Linked DNA regions of Homo sapiens: region 2 is linked to region 1. Evidence: promoter capture Hi-C in human tissues and cell types (Jung and others, 2019). All regions are on one chromosome and are shown on one strand. The core of a region is centred on a gene start or on the middle of the fragment in contact, and the rest is flanking DNA. Distances in the headings are between cores, read along the strand shown.

What was found. The method cuts DNA at HindIII sites, captures the fragments that hold promoters and counts their contacts. A contact is called where the count stands out against the background at its distance.
Region 2: the fragment with the promoter of GNAT1 here is called in contact with the fragment with the promoter of CELSR3 in region 1 in 1 of the 25 tissues and cell types used here (aorta).

The regions. Positions count from the first base shown.
Region 1 is chr3:48,659,688-48,666,477 of GRCh38, reverse strand. It overlaps CELSR3 (cadherin EGF LAG seven-pass G-type receptor 3), which reads left to right and starts at 3,592. Exons shown (of 35, transcript NM_001407.3): 1 at 3,592-6,790. The coding sequence starts at 3,844. It overlaps LINC02585 (long intergenic non-protein coding RNA 2585), which reads right to left and starts at 2,710. Exons shown (of 3, transcript NR_111921.1): 1 at 2,665-2,710; 2 at 756-837. RefSeq lists enhancers at 1,186-1,770, 2,267-2,626, 2,941-3,526, 3,397-3,586, 4,698-5,282 and 2 more. The HindIII fragment of the contact is 20,539 bases long and covers 1-6,790 here.
Region 2 is chr3:50,187,928-50,194,717 of GRCh38, reverse strand. GNAT1 (G protein subunit alpha transducin 1) reads right to left here and starts at 3,108. Exons shown (of 9, transcript NM_144499.3): 1 at 2,887-3,108; 2 at 1,543-1,585; 3 at 1,312-1,453; 4 at 1,055-1,212; 5 at 837-965; 6 at 497-626; 7 at 64-217. The coding sequence starts at 2,992. It overlaps SEMA3F (semaphorin 3F), which reads right to left. Exons shown (of 19, transcript NM_004186.5): 19 at 5,643-6,790. The coding sequence ends at 6,603. RefSeq lists enhancers at 1-318, 307-366, 319-835, 836-1,352. The HindIII fragment of the contact is 7,512 bases long and covers 1-6,334 here.

The DNA of each region.
Region 1 (6,790 bases), core at 2,343-4,842:
ACTGGATAGGCCCTCCGATATAATACTGAGGCTTGTGGTCATGAATATAAAATGAGACCAATTAGCACGGTTGTTTGTTTTTCTCCAGCAATGTTCTGCTGCGCTAGAGGCAAACAATACGTAAATAGTCTATTTTAACGGGGTTAGATTTTAGCCCAGCAAGTTTGTCTAAGAAGAACAGGGCAGGCCGGGCACAATGGCTCATGCCTGTAATCCCAGCACTTTGGGAGGCCGAGGCGGGAGCATCACAAGGTCAGGAGATCGAGACCAGCCTGGCTAACACGGTGAAACGCCGTCTCTACTAAAAATACAAAAAAAAAAATTAGCTGGGCATGGTGGTGGACGCCTGTAGTCCCAGCTACTCGGGAGGCTGAGTCAGGAGAATGGTGTGAACCTGGGAGGCAGAGCTTGCAGTGAGCCGAGATCGCGCCACTGCACTCCAGCCTGGGCGACAGAGCAAGGCTCTGTCTCAAAAAAAAAAAAAAAAAGAAAAAGAAAAAGAACAGGGCAGGGAGTTTCCGTGGCACTGAACTCTATAAGGCTAATGACACAGGTCAATAGCTGAGGTGATGAACAATGGACTCGAGATCTCAGTGAGGTCAAAGAACTGCTGGATAATTGAGCTGGACAGGTTGGCCAGGTCTTCCCCTGGAAAGGTACACCTGGCTGGGAGTAGACAAACACAGGGTGGGGTGGAAAAGGCAGGAGAAGGAAAGGCTGAGAAGTGTTAGTGGCAGTATCTGCCACACCCTTACCCTGGTCTTCTGATCGCTCCATCTGCCGCCCAGCAGCCTCAAATCCAGGTCTCTGGGTCCTGGGTGGACCTCTAGTTGGGAGCTGATAAGAGAAGGAGGATAGGCTGGGCACGGTGCCTCATGCCGGTAATCCCAGCACTTTGGGAGGCTGAGGCGGGCAGATCACTAGAGGTCAGGAGTTTGATACCAGCCTGGCCAACATGGTGAAGCCCCATCACATGGTGAAGCCCCATCACACCACTTCACTCCAGCCTGGGTGACAGAGTGAAACTCCATCTCAAAAAAAAAAAAAAAAAAAAAAAATGAGGTTAAACCACATAGGGGTCTTATTAGGAGGCAAGGGCAAGATTTGGAGGTGGAGAGAAGAACTACCACCACTATCACTAACATCTGGTTTTTGTTTTTTTTTTTTTACCGGGAGTGCATTAGGAGCTGCCAATGGGGCTGGGGCATAGAGGTGAGTGCAGATTGAGGGAGAGGGGCTCCACAGAACAGCCACAAAGGGAGGATGACAGTGGGATGACACACAGCAGGCAGCAACATGGAGAGTGATCCGCAATCAATCTCACTACTCAGAAGTGAGGAGCTTTGCTCTCCAAAAGGAGTGTTAGCTGGGACCAGCGCCAGCCCTATTGGTGAGAGGGCAGGGCTTGATTTCCCTCAGCCATAGTCCCTTTATGTCTCTGCACATTTGCCCACACAGTCTCCAAGACCTAGGATGCCCACCCCCAATCCCTATCCCTCCCTGCCCTTCCTTTGCAGATGCGGATCTCCCCTTGGTCATTCAAGGCACTGCTCAGGCATCTTATGCAAGAAGGCGTCCCAGGTTGCGAAGGTGACTCAGACGCCTCCTTTGGGACTCCAACACCCTTCCCCGGCAGAGCCCCTGCCTGTCTGCCTCCGTGGTGTCAGGTTTTGTGCCCTCTACTCACTAGATTGTGGACACAGAAAGCGCTGGTGCTGTCAAAACCACTTCTGGGTTGCCGGGCGCGGTGGCTCACACCTATAATCCCAGCACTTTGGGAGGCCAAGATGGGCGGATTGCTTGAGCCCAGGAGTTCAAGACTAATCTGGCCTACATGGTGAGACCCTGTCTCTATAAAAAATGCAAAAATTAGCCAAGTGTGATGACATGTACCCGTAGTCCCAGCTACTCGGGAGGCTGAGGTGAGAGAATCGCCTGGGGAGTTCGAGGCTACGGTGAGCTGTGATCACCACTGCACTCCGAAAGAGTGAGACCTTGTCTCTAAATAGATAAATAAAACTACTTTGGGGGACTCGCTCCTCCAGCCCCTGCACCGATTGGCTCCCATTCAAAGGAGTTCAGCCCTAAGTGCCTCTGCAGATCTTCCACCCCCACTCACAAACCCGTAGGAACCCCGGCCGTGTATCAGGCCCAGAGCTCTGATCCTGGGGAGGTCCTCAGATTCGTAGACAGGAGAGGGAACAACTGGACACCTGTTGCCTGACCTTGGTAGCCACAAGGGGCGCTCGGGAGGTGGAACCCGCAGAAGCCCCGCCTCCCGGAAGCGGAGCAGTCAAGGGGCGAAAGGATGCGCCGACTGATTGGTTGATGGTGATGTCATAGGGACCGTTCGGGGCGGGCCAGAGGCCTTGGCCAGGAGTTCCTCGCCTGTTAGAACCAGGATCCACCCCATCGCGGGAGCCGCACCCTGTGGAGCGTTCTGGGGTCCCGGCCCTGACCTCTTCCTGGGCTTCGGGATGCCCGCGTCCTCTGCACCCGGCGCTGCAGCTCGTTATCGATTCCGCCTTTGGAGGCCGGTCCGTATAGTGTACCTCCCGGACTCTCTCACGGTTAGCCGGCAACCCGCGGAGCCCCCTCCCCCATGCGATGAGTCCGCCGTGAGGGGCGGGGCCTCCCATTGTGCCAATAGAAACAATGACTGACCGATTGGAGTGCTCCGCGTTCACCCCTCGCCTCCGCTCCTCTCGTGACGTCTGTTGCGCCAGGTCCACCCATTGGCCTGGCGAGACCGGCGCGTGCCAGGAGTTACGCAGGGAGAGCTGGAATGCACCGAGGGTGGGGGGAGGACTGAGTTTCTGTGTCAGTCCCTTCAAGGGGTTAAGGCATGCGGTCGTGACGGACGAGGGGCGGGGACCCGAAGAAGCGGGGCCCGCAGCCATGGGGCAACGCCGGGCTCCACGTGGCATCCCAGAGCACTCGGGACTCGCAGCCTGGGAGGGGGTGCAGCCTCCAGTGAAGGGGCCCCGAGCCCGGGAGACTGCTGGGGACCAGCAAGGCAGGGAAGAATTTGGCCTCTGCTCCCGCCTCGGGAGGGTCATCTCTGGTCCCTGCTCCGCAGGGGCGATCCAAACAAGCAGGTGGTCGCGACATGTTTCATAAAACTAGCTGATGGGATAGTTAAAGCTATTGTTCGGGGTGCTGGCACCCCAGACCCCTCTCCAGCCATCGTCCCCTCTACCCCAGGATTTCACACAGTACCCCCTCCCAGAGCTATGAGAACGCTCATGGGCACCAAAATTTCAGACCAAAATCCGGGACACGGTTCAGAACTAGTGGTCAGGAAGGGGGAACAAGAGATCTGGAAGGACAGAAAAAGGCTGGGAGACGGAGCTGGGACAGCGCCCTAGAAGGAGGGAGGTGGGTGAAGGCGGCGACCGAAAGTGGGGAGGGCGGACCCAACGACGGCGAACCTTCGCGCTCTGTTCAGCACCAGGAGCAACGCTCACGTCCTCAATAAAGATGGCGGCAACATCTTCGGTCCTCAGAGCTGCCATGCGCGATGGGTTGTACCACCGTGTTTCGGGCGCCGGGGCAGAGGTGGAGCGAACCATCGGGGCGGCCGGGAGCCATGTTGGAGCGGCGGGAGGCGGCAGCAGCGTCGGGGATGCTGTGGTGGGGGCGGAAAAAGCCAGGGCCGCACGCCGGAGGGGCTCCGGCCGCGGAGTAGATGGTGCCCAGAGGGCGGCGGGGGTGCGGAGAGACAGGCGGAGGGGCGGGGGCCCGGGGCGGCGGCAGGGGCCCGGGAGGGGGCCCGAGCGGCGGGGCCAGCCCAAGGCCCGGACCGGGGCGGGGGGCGGTGGAGGCCGTGCAGGGAGGCGGGGGATGATGGCGAGGCGGCCGCCGTGGCGGGGCCTCGGGGGACGGTCGACCCCCATACTCCTGCTCCTTCTCCTCTCTTTGTTCCCCCTCAGCCAGGAGGAGCTGGGGGGCGGTGGGCACCAGGGCTGGGACCCAGGCTTAGCTGCCACTACGGGGCCAAGGGCGCATATCGGTGGCGGAGCCTTAGCTCTTTGTCCGGAGTCTTCCGGGGTCCGGGAGGATGGGGGGCCTGGCCTGGGGGTCAGGGAGCCTATCTTCGTGGGGCTCCGAGGGAGAAGGCAAAGCGCCCGGAATAGTCGAGGGCCCCCTGAGCAGCCGAATGAGGAGCTGGGGATTGAACACGGCGTCCAGCCATTGGGCAGCCGCGAACGAGAGACAGGACAGGGACCAGGGTCTGTGTTATACTGGCGCCCAGAGGTCTCCTCTTGCGGGCGGACAGGACCTTTGCAAAGAGGTAGTCTGTCACCAGGGGCTCTGTCCTCAGGGGTCCCGGGCTCGGGGAACAGCTCGCCCCTCCCTTCAGACTTTTTGATTCGGCACCACGGTCCCAAGCCGGTGTCCTCCCAGCGGAACGCTGGGACAGGCTCCCGCAAAAGAGTGGGCACCGCGCGCTGCTGTGGGGAATTATGGGCAACAGGGAGCAAGGGTCAGGGCGAGAGAGCCACGACATCCGGAGCAGAAAGGACAGCCCCCCGGCGGAACTGTCTTCCAGGGGCCTCGGGATCTGGCCCCGAGCTGGATTCAGCACCACGCACGGCGAGGACAGCTCCTGCATCAGGTTCAGCACCCCGCGAGTCTCGGACAGCTCCCGAGCCGGCGCCCAAGCGCATGCGCTCCCGGGGTCTCTTCCGCTGCCGCTTCCTCCCGCAGCGCCCCGGGCCGCGTCCCCCGGGACTCCCGGCCCGTCCTGAAGCCAGGAAAGTAACCTCGGCGAACCGGGCACGCTTTCGTCGCGCCGCAAACCGCCACCCGCAGTTTCCGCAGTACAACTACCAGACGCTGGTGCCGGAGAATGAGGCAGCAGGCACCGCGGTGCTACGCGTGGTTGCTCAGGACCCGGACGCCGGCGAGGCCGGGCGCCTAGTCTACTCGCTGGCGGCACTCATGAACAGCCGCTCGCTGGAGCTGTTCAGCATCGACCCGCAGAGCGGCCTTATCCGTACGGCGGCAGCTCTGGACCGCGAGAGCATGGAGCGTCACTACCTGCGTGTGACCGCGCAGGACCACGGGTCGCCGCGCCTCTCGGCCACCACGATGGTGGCCGTGACAGTAGCCGACCGCAACGACCACTCGCCGGTTTTTGAGCAAGCGCAGTACCGGGAGACCCTTCGCGAGAATGTGGAGGAGGGCTACCCTATCCTGCAGCTGCGTGCCACTGACGGCGACGCGCCCCCCAACGCCAACCTGCGCTACCGCTTCGTGGGGCCGCCAGCTGCGCGCGCTGCAGCTGCCGCCGCCTTCGAGATTGATCCACGCTCCGGCCTCATCAGCACCAGCGGCCGAGTGGACCGCGAGCACATGGAAAGCTATGAGCTGGTGGTGGAAGCCAGCGACCAGGGCCAGGAACCCGGGCCGCGCTCGGCCACTGTGCGCGTACACATAACTGTGCTAGACGAGAACGACAATGCTCCTCAGTTCAGCGAGAAGCGCTACGTGGCGCAGGTGCGCGAGGATGTGCGCCCCCACACAGTCGTGCTGCGCGTCACGGCCACTGACCGGGACAAGGACGCCAACGGATTGGTGCACTACAACATCATCAGTGGCAATAGCCGTGGACACTTTGCCATCGACAGCCTCACTGGCGAGATCCAGGTGGTGGCACCTCTGGACTTCGAGGCAGAGAGAGAGTATGCCTTGCGCATCAGGGCGCAGGATGCTGGCCGGCCACCGCTGTCCAACAACACGGGCCTGGCCAGCATCCAGGTGGTGGACATCAATGACCACATTCCTATTTTTGTCAGCACGCCCTTCCAAGTTTCTGTCTTGGAAAATGCTCCCTTGGGTCACTCAGTCATCCACATTCAGGCAGTCGATGCAGACCATGGGGAGAATGCCAGATTGGAGTACTCCCTAACTGGTGTGGCACCTGATACTCCTTTTGTGATAAACAGCGCCACTGGCTGGGTCTCTGTGAGTGGTCCCCTGGACCGTGAGTCTGTGGAGCATTACTTCTTTGGTGTGGAGGCTCGAGACCATGGCTCACCCCCACTCTCTGCCTCAGCCAGTGTCACCGTGACTGTGCTGGACGTTAATGACAATCGGCCTGAGTTCACAATGAAGGAGTACCACCTACGACTGAATGAGGATGCAGCTGTGGGCACCAGTGTGGTCAGCGTGACCGCAGTAGACCGTGATGCCAACAGTGCCATCAGCTACCAGATCACAGGCGGCAACACCCGGAATCGCTTTGCCATCAGCACCCAGGGGGGTGTGGGTCTGGTGACTCTGGCTCTGCCACTGGACTACAAGCAGGAACGCTACTTCAAGCTGGTACTAACTGCATCTGACCGTGCCCTTCATGATCACTGCTATGTGCACATCAACATCACAGATGCCAACACTCATCGGCCGGTCTTTCAAAGTGCCCACTACTCAGTGAGTGTGAATGAAGATCGGCCAATGGGTAGCACCATAGTGGTCATCAGTGCCTCTGATGATGACGTGGGTGAGAATGCTCGTATCACCTATCTCCTGGAGGACAACCTGCCCCAGTTCCGCATTGATGCAGACTCAGGAGCCATTACATTACAGGCCCCATTAGACTATGAGGACCAGGTGACCTACACCCTGGCTATCACAGCTCGGGACAATGGCATCCCACAGAAGGCAGACACTACTTATGTGGAGGTGATGGTCAATGACGTGAATGACAATGCTCCACAATTTGTGGCCTCCCACTATACAGGGCTGGTCTCTGAGGATGCCCCACCTTTCACCAGTGTCCTGCAGA
Region 2 (6,790 bases), core at 1,859-4,358, 1.5 Mb before region 1:
CGGGGGGTGCGCGCCGCGATCGTGGGGCGGGGGCGCCGCCTGGCGGCCTTGCGGACTTCTCACCATCGTAGTCCGGGAAACAGATGCTGAGGTGCGCCTTCTTGATCTTCTCGAAGAAGACGTCCTTCTTGTTAAGGAAGAGCACGATGGACGTCGTGGCGAAGTAGCGGTGGTTGCAGATGCTGTTGAACAGGTGCAGGCTCTCGTGCATGCGGTTCTGAGGAGGGCAGCAGCTGTTGGGCACCCGGGGTAGCGTCCGACCCGCAGCACCTGCTCTCTGGGCTCCCGGGCACGCGGGGCTTCCCGCTCAGCTGGCTCTCAGAGGGCTCCCCGCACTGCCCCAGATGGGCCTGCTGAACGCCTCCGGGCCTCCTCAGGCCGCCCGGGACAGGCATCCCCTCCCGTGCCCTCCCCCAGCCCAGCGCGCGGTCTCCGCCTCCAGGGACCAGCAGCTCCTCCTCGCCCCCCTGGAACACAGGCCCTGCCTGGCACGCACCACTTCGTCGTCCTCCACTAGCACCATGTCGTAGGCGCTCAGCGCCGCGATGAAGATGATGCAGGTCACGCCCTCGAAGCAGTGGATCCACTTCTTGCGCTCCGAGCGCTGCCCGCCCACATCGAACATCCTGCGGGGCCGCGGGGGCCTGAACCTGCGCCCCGGGCCCCACAGGCAACATCCCTTCGCCCTGTGCTGGTCGGGGAGCTCTCGGCCGGGACTACCACCCTTTCTGCTGGCGGGGTATCAGGGAAGGGGCAGGGTCTATCGCAGGGATGGGGTCCCCGGGGCAGGACGGGGCCTGGGGCAGTGACCTCCTGGGCTAGCGTATGGGTCGTACCGGAAGTTGAGATCCTTGAAGGAGAACTGCGTCTCGATGATGCCAGTGGTCTTGACTCGCGAGCGCAGCACGTCCTGCTCGGTGGGCACGTAGCCCGGGGTTACCAGGCGCTCCAGGTCGGAGAGGTAGCTGCGCGAGACCCGGCCGTAGGTGGGTGGGGAGGCGTGGAGGGCCCCCTGCGCCCCGCGCCCCGCGCCCCGCGCTGCCCGCGCGCTCACTAGCCCGCCGAGTCGTTGAGCTGGTACTCCGAGGCGCGCTCAAAACAGGCCTGGATACCGGAGTCCTTCCACAGCCGCTGGATGATGTCCGACATCTCCTTGGGCATCGTGCCCTCCTCGATAGTGTCTGCCATGTGCATCAGCTTCCGGGCGTCGTCCTGGGGGCAGGGTGAGAGTGGCTGGTGGCGGCCAGGGACTCGGGCCCAGCCGCGAGCCTCGAGTCCCCAGAGGCCCGCTCAGCCCGCCTCCTGGCACACCTGGCGTGCAGAGTCTCCGTACTGGATGTTGAGTGTGGTCATGGCGCGTACGATGGCCAGGATGGACTGCAACGTGTTGCCGTAGATGATGGCGATAAACTCGAGGCACTCTTCCAGCGAGTACCCGTCCTGGTGGATAATCCTGAGGCCGAGGAGAGCAGAATCAGCGCCTCGTGGGGAAGTGGGGAAGGACCCAGACCCAGGGGCCTCGGGACAGGCAGGGGCACTCACTTCATCTGCTTGACGATGGTGCTCTTCCCGGACTCACCGGCACCTGAAAGAGACGCGGCGCCTCAGAGCTGCGCTGACCAGCCTGCCCCCTCCAGCAAGGAGGCCAGGAGGACGGGGACCTCCCGAGTTGGCAGGGTGGACCCGCAGCGAAGAGGCCTGAGCGCCAGCCCCGACCCCGTAGCCACACCTACCCCCCCATCCAAATTAAGTCCTGACATCCTGAAGTCACAAGGTTTGCAAATGCCAGGAAAGTGAAGAAAGGAAGCCAACGAGGGGACTCAACGACCTCAACTGTTCTGGGACAGGGGAGTCCCCAAGACCCCGGCACAGGCAGCCTTTATTATGCTGTGAGACTGCAATGAAGAAATCCCGGAGCGTCATCGCCACCTCGTGGGAGCCTCTGGTACCGCAAGCACTGGGTTATTTGAGGCGGGTAAACCCCTTGCATTTCACCTGAAGGGGTGCAGGTGTCTCCAGGAGGCTCAGAGGGAATTAGCTCTTTTGGGTAGGAGGGAGGGCAGAGTTGACATCCTTTCTGAGCTTGCCCCTGCGAGGGCGTTGGGCACAGTTAATGAGATTTCCGGCTTAGCCTCTCTGCCTTGGGGGAAAGTGGGACTGGCTTGGTCCCTCACCCACCTCCAGCTGGTTGACCAGACCCTGGGGAGCTTGGGTGGAGCCCCTCTTGAAGCTGCTTTTTCCCCTTGAGAGGTCAGGCAGTGACCTTGAGGCAGGCCTGGATCAGCCCCATCTCTCCTCAGTGCCCATGGTCCAGTGGACGCGGCTTTATCTACTCCCACTGGGCCTCAGTACCCGCCAGCCCCTCTGGCTGCTTTGTAGGTCTATCAGCCACAGCCCTCTGGCACCTGAGGGCCATTCGTTGTGGATCTGGGTGGTCCTAGAGGCTCCCCACTCCCAGGAGGACTATGGCCATCCCCTTCCCAAAGTAGCAGCCCAATAACGGGCTCCCAGTGAGGCTCCTGGCTTCTGAGCATTGCCTAGCAGGCGTATCAAACCAAAGGCTGCATGAAGCTTGCGGGAACCCAGCCACGGAAAAGTCGGCATCACACACCCGTGCAAGAGTGTGGTTGGCACGCACTTCTGGGGAGGGTGGGTCACCTGAGGCAGAGCCGTCTGGAGAGGGGCTTTGTGGGATGTCCAGCCCTGGGGGACTAGGACACCACCTGTCAGGCCTGGCCTTGCTTGGCCAGGGCTCCCACCCTGTGCCCTACTCTGTCACAGGCTCATACTGCTTCCCAGGGAATCCTTGCTTCACAGAAGGGCTGCCTGCCTGCCTCCAGACCAATGACCTGGTGGCAGTGGCCCCACCTGGGCCCACACCCCTACCCAGAAGCAGCAGCTTCACGGTTCGAGCATCCTTCTCAGCGTCCTCTTTCAGCTTCTTTTCCAGCTCCCTGGAGTGCTTCTCCTCAGCACTGGCCCCAGCCCCCATGGTCCCAGCAGCAGGCGAAGGGACAGAGTGAGCAGGTGGTTCTTCTGGATGGAGGGGATCCCCAGAACCTGGCCTCCCAGGCACCCTTCTGGCCCCAGGAGGACCTGCAATCAACTGGCTCTCTACGGACCTGTGCAATCCCTGGTGGGGCTGCTTAGTGGGATTTGGGGGCTAGGGGTGTCCAAGAGCCAATCAGAGACAAGGACAGGTGAATCCAGCTCAGCCCCCCCAACCCTTCTAATCGGGCTGGCATAGCCCCAATCCCTCAACCGCTGACTCTGCACTCCGGCTGTCCTTCTGTCCCCGCAACCCTCCAGGAGAGGCCCTGGCACTGCCTGGGAGTGGGGAGACATGTTCAGTAGGGTCAGGGCTGAGAAAGGGGAAGGCAGAACCTTGAGCCCTGGGGGTGAGGACAATGGAGGTGGGGCTGGCAGTGAGAGGGCATAATTGGGAGAAACATGCCTGCTGCCTGCCCGGCACCAGGCTCAGCACCACTCCTTATCTTGTTGTAAGCTCACACTGGCCCTGGAGTATGGATGCCCATATCATCAGCCTCATTTTACTGATGAGGAAGTAAAGGCTGAAAGGGTCACACAGTAGGAAGTGGTTAAGAAGGGCTGGTGACTCTGGACTGGGATTTTATGACCTGCAGGGAATCCAGAGAGAGGGAAACAGTGGGCATTGCATTCATCCCATATCACAGGCTGGAGCTGCCCCAAGGAGGTCCTCTGCTTCCAGCGGACTGTGGTGGGCATGCATATCTGCTCTGTGTGCCTCGGTGTATGTGTCTTTTTTTTTTTTTTTTCTGAGATGGAGTCTCGCTCTGTTGCTCAGGCTGGAGTGCAGTGGCGCAATCTCAGCTCACTGCAAGCTCCACCTCCCAGGTTCACGCCATTCTCCTGCCTCAGCCTCCTGAGTAGCTGGGACAACAGGTGCCCGCCACTACGTCGGGCTACTTTTTTTGTATTTTAGTAAAGACAGGGTTTCACCGTGTTAGCCAGGATGGTCTCAGTCTCCTGACCTCGTGATCTGCCCGCCTCGGCCTCCCAAAGTGCTGGGATTACAGGCATGAGCCACCGTGCCTGGCCTTTTTTTTTTTTTTTTTTTTTTTTTTTTGAGACAGAGTTTCACTCTGTTGCCAGGCTTGAGTGCTGTGACACGATCTTGGCTCACTGCAACCTTCAACTCCCTGGTTTAAGCTTCTCCCACCTCAGCCTCCCAAGTAGCTGGGATTACGGGCATGTGCCACCATACCCAGCTAATTTTTTGTGTATTTTTAGTAGAGACGGGGTTTCACCATGTTGGTCAGGATGGTCTCGATCTCCTGACCTTGTGATCCACCCACCTCGGCCTCCCAAAGTGCTGGGATTCAGGTGTGAGCCACCTCGCCCGGCCATGGGTGTGTCTTTTGCTGGCACCAAGCGAGCAATAACTTGACACATTTGTGCATGAATACCTGTGTGTACATGTGTGCCTGCATGTTTATGCCTTTGTGAGTGCATGTGCTCTTATAGGAATCACGTGCCTGTGCGCATGCTTATGTATGTGTGCACATGTATACACATGTGTATGCATGTGTGAATATGCTTTGTGTATTCTCTTCATGCACACATAGGCTTGTGTGTTTTGCAGTTTGTGTAGGTTTGCATGTGTGCACTTGCTTATACGCAGGGGTGTAAACATGCCTGTTTGTACCTGAGCATATGTGTGCCTGTGCATGTCCATCTCTGCCTGTGTATGACTGTGTGTGTGCATGCATGCTTGCAGGCGCCTGTGCCTATATGTACACTTGAATTTGGGTGCAACAAAGTCTCTAATCTGCAGAAGTGGCCAGGCTCTTCCAGAGAATGTTTTGCAGGCCTGTTGCCAGGTGGAGAAATTGCATCCCAGAGCAGGTGTAGTGTTCCCTGGGGTATGGAGGAATGGGGCTCACCTATCCTGCTCCTGCTCTGTCTGCTGTGGGTGCTCTGAGGCCTGCCTAAGATTATCTCCAGGGCCTGCCTGCCTCAGCTTAGGGGGTCTGGTGCTCTGTTCAGGTGCAGGGCTCACTGCCGGGCAGAAATTGTTCAGGTTGAGCTCCCAGGTTCTAGAGACTTCCCACCCTCAACTTCCATAGGAAAACCCAAATCTTGGGCTCTCAAAGGCTCCTCCAGGCACCCTGAGCCTCCTGGCTGGACTCTTCCCTGGAACCTGGCTGCCTTTCAGCACTCAACTCTGCCACAGACTCAAGAGACCACAAGGGGGTGCCGGGGCACCAGACACTGAGCACTAACGGCTGTCTCTAAATAGTATGCGTGGGAAGTGAATGCTGGCTCCTACCACAGGCTGGCAGCTTCTACACCCACCCTGTTGGATGATGGGGATCTGTCCAGGAGTGAGGCCGTTGCATTTCTGCCACTTTCAGCCTTCAGGCTCCACCCACCCTCCCTGACCCTGAGGAGTGAGTGGGCCCTGAGGGGTCTCTACAGCCCTTCGCACTACCCAAGTGTTTGGGGTGGTGCAGCAGCCCAGGTTTGTCAAACTAAATGTGGTTTCTACATGTTGGGTTTCTTTAAATGGAGCCAATCTACTCCCTTCCCAGCCCCCCACCTGGCTCCCCAGGCCCACCACGTGTGGCTCTAAATCCCCTGACCAAGGAGAGAAGCCAAAGTCTAGTCCCAGAGCCAGTGTTTATTAGCAAGATGGAACCCAAAGGCGGCTGTGGCCTGGGCAGCAGAAGGCCACCAGGAGCCCCCACCCATCTACCCAACTGCCCCCCAGAGCTAATTACATCCACACCCATCCCCTGAAGTGGTGGACATAAGGGAGCCCTGGGGAGCCTCTACCGGCCCCAGGCCTCTACCACGGACCCCCTCCCCTCAGAGCTGGGGCCTCCCGTCAGCTCTGCCTGGGCCTGGCCCCTCTGCTATGCTCCCAGCCTCTGAGTCAAAGTGGCACAGGGAAAGCTAAGGAGGTAGAGTGGGGTGGCCCTGCCCTGGCCAGGCGGGGAGGGGAGAAGGGGCTGAAGAGGCTGTCCCACCCAGGCAGGATGCCTCTTCTCCTATCCCCAATAAATAGAGAATAAATACCCAGGAAGGGGCTGGTCGTGGCTGAGTGCCCCCAACCCAGGCAGGGGCTGGCATCCTGTGATGGCCCCTTCTTCCCTTCTCTGTGTGCTCTTGAGGCCACCCCAGTCTCCAAAGTGGTCCTCGCATCCATGTCTATGCCACAGCACAGGCTGACAACACACATCAGAAAAGGTGGACAGTCCGTGCCCCATCCGAGTAGGGCTTGCTCCCTCCCTTTGTCCTGTAGATCTTGGCGGAGGCTGTCCAGCAGGTAGACTTCCAGCTGAGTCTGGGGACTGTGTGGTCCTGGCCTGGCCCCACCAACTGGCTGGGCCTGGTTAGGCAGGCTCTGTTTTCTGCCGTCTCTGACCAGCATGGGTCTAAGTTTTGGAGGATGCTGCCACTGAGGCAGGCTATATTCAACCCACCAATAAATACTGTCTTTGCAGGGGCAGGGTGTGTATAGAATATAGATATTTTATATATATATATATATATATATATCTTTTATATTAAAAGGGACAAGGGCTAGGCTGGCCCATGGCAGGCACAGGCAGCTGGCCTCATGTGTCCGGAGGGTGGTGCCGGCGGTTCCGGGGCTTTTTCTGGTCCTGGGGCTCAGGAGACCGGGGTGCCCCTGGAGCCTCCCTGGGGCTGGGGGGCACATGGCGCCAGTAACCCTGGCAGTACTGGTGGATGAGGCCCACTTCTGGCTGGGCCAGCAGCTGGGCTAACTCCTGGTAAGGAGGCG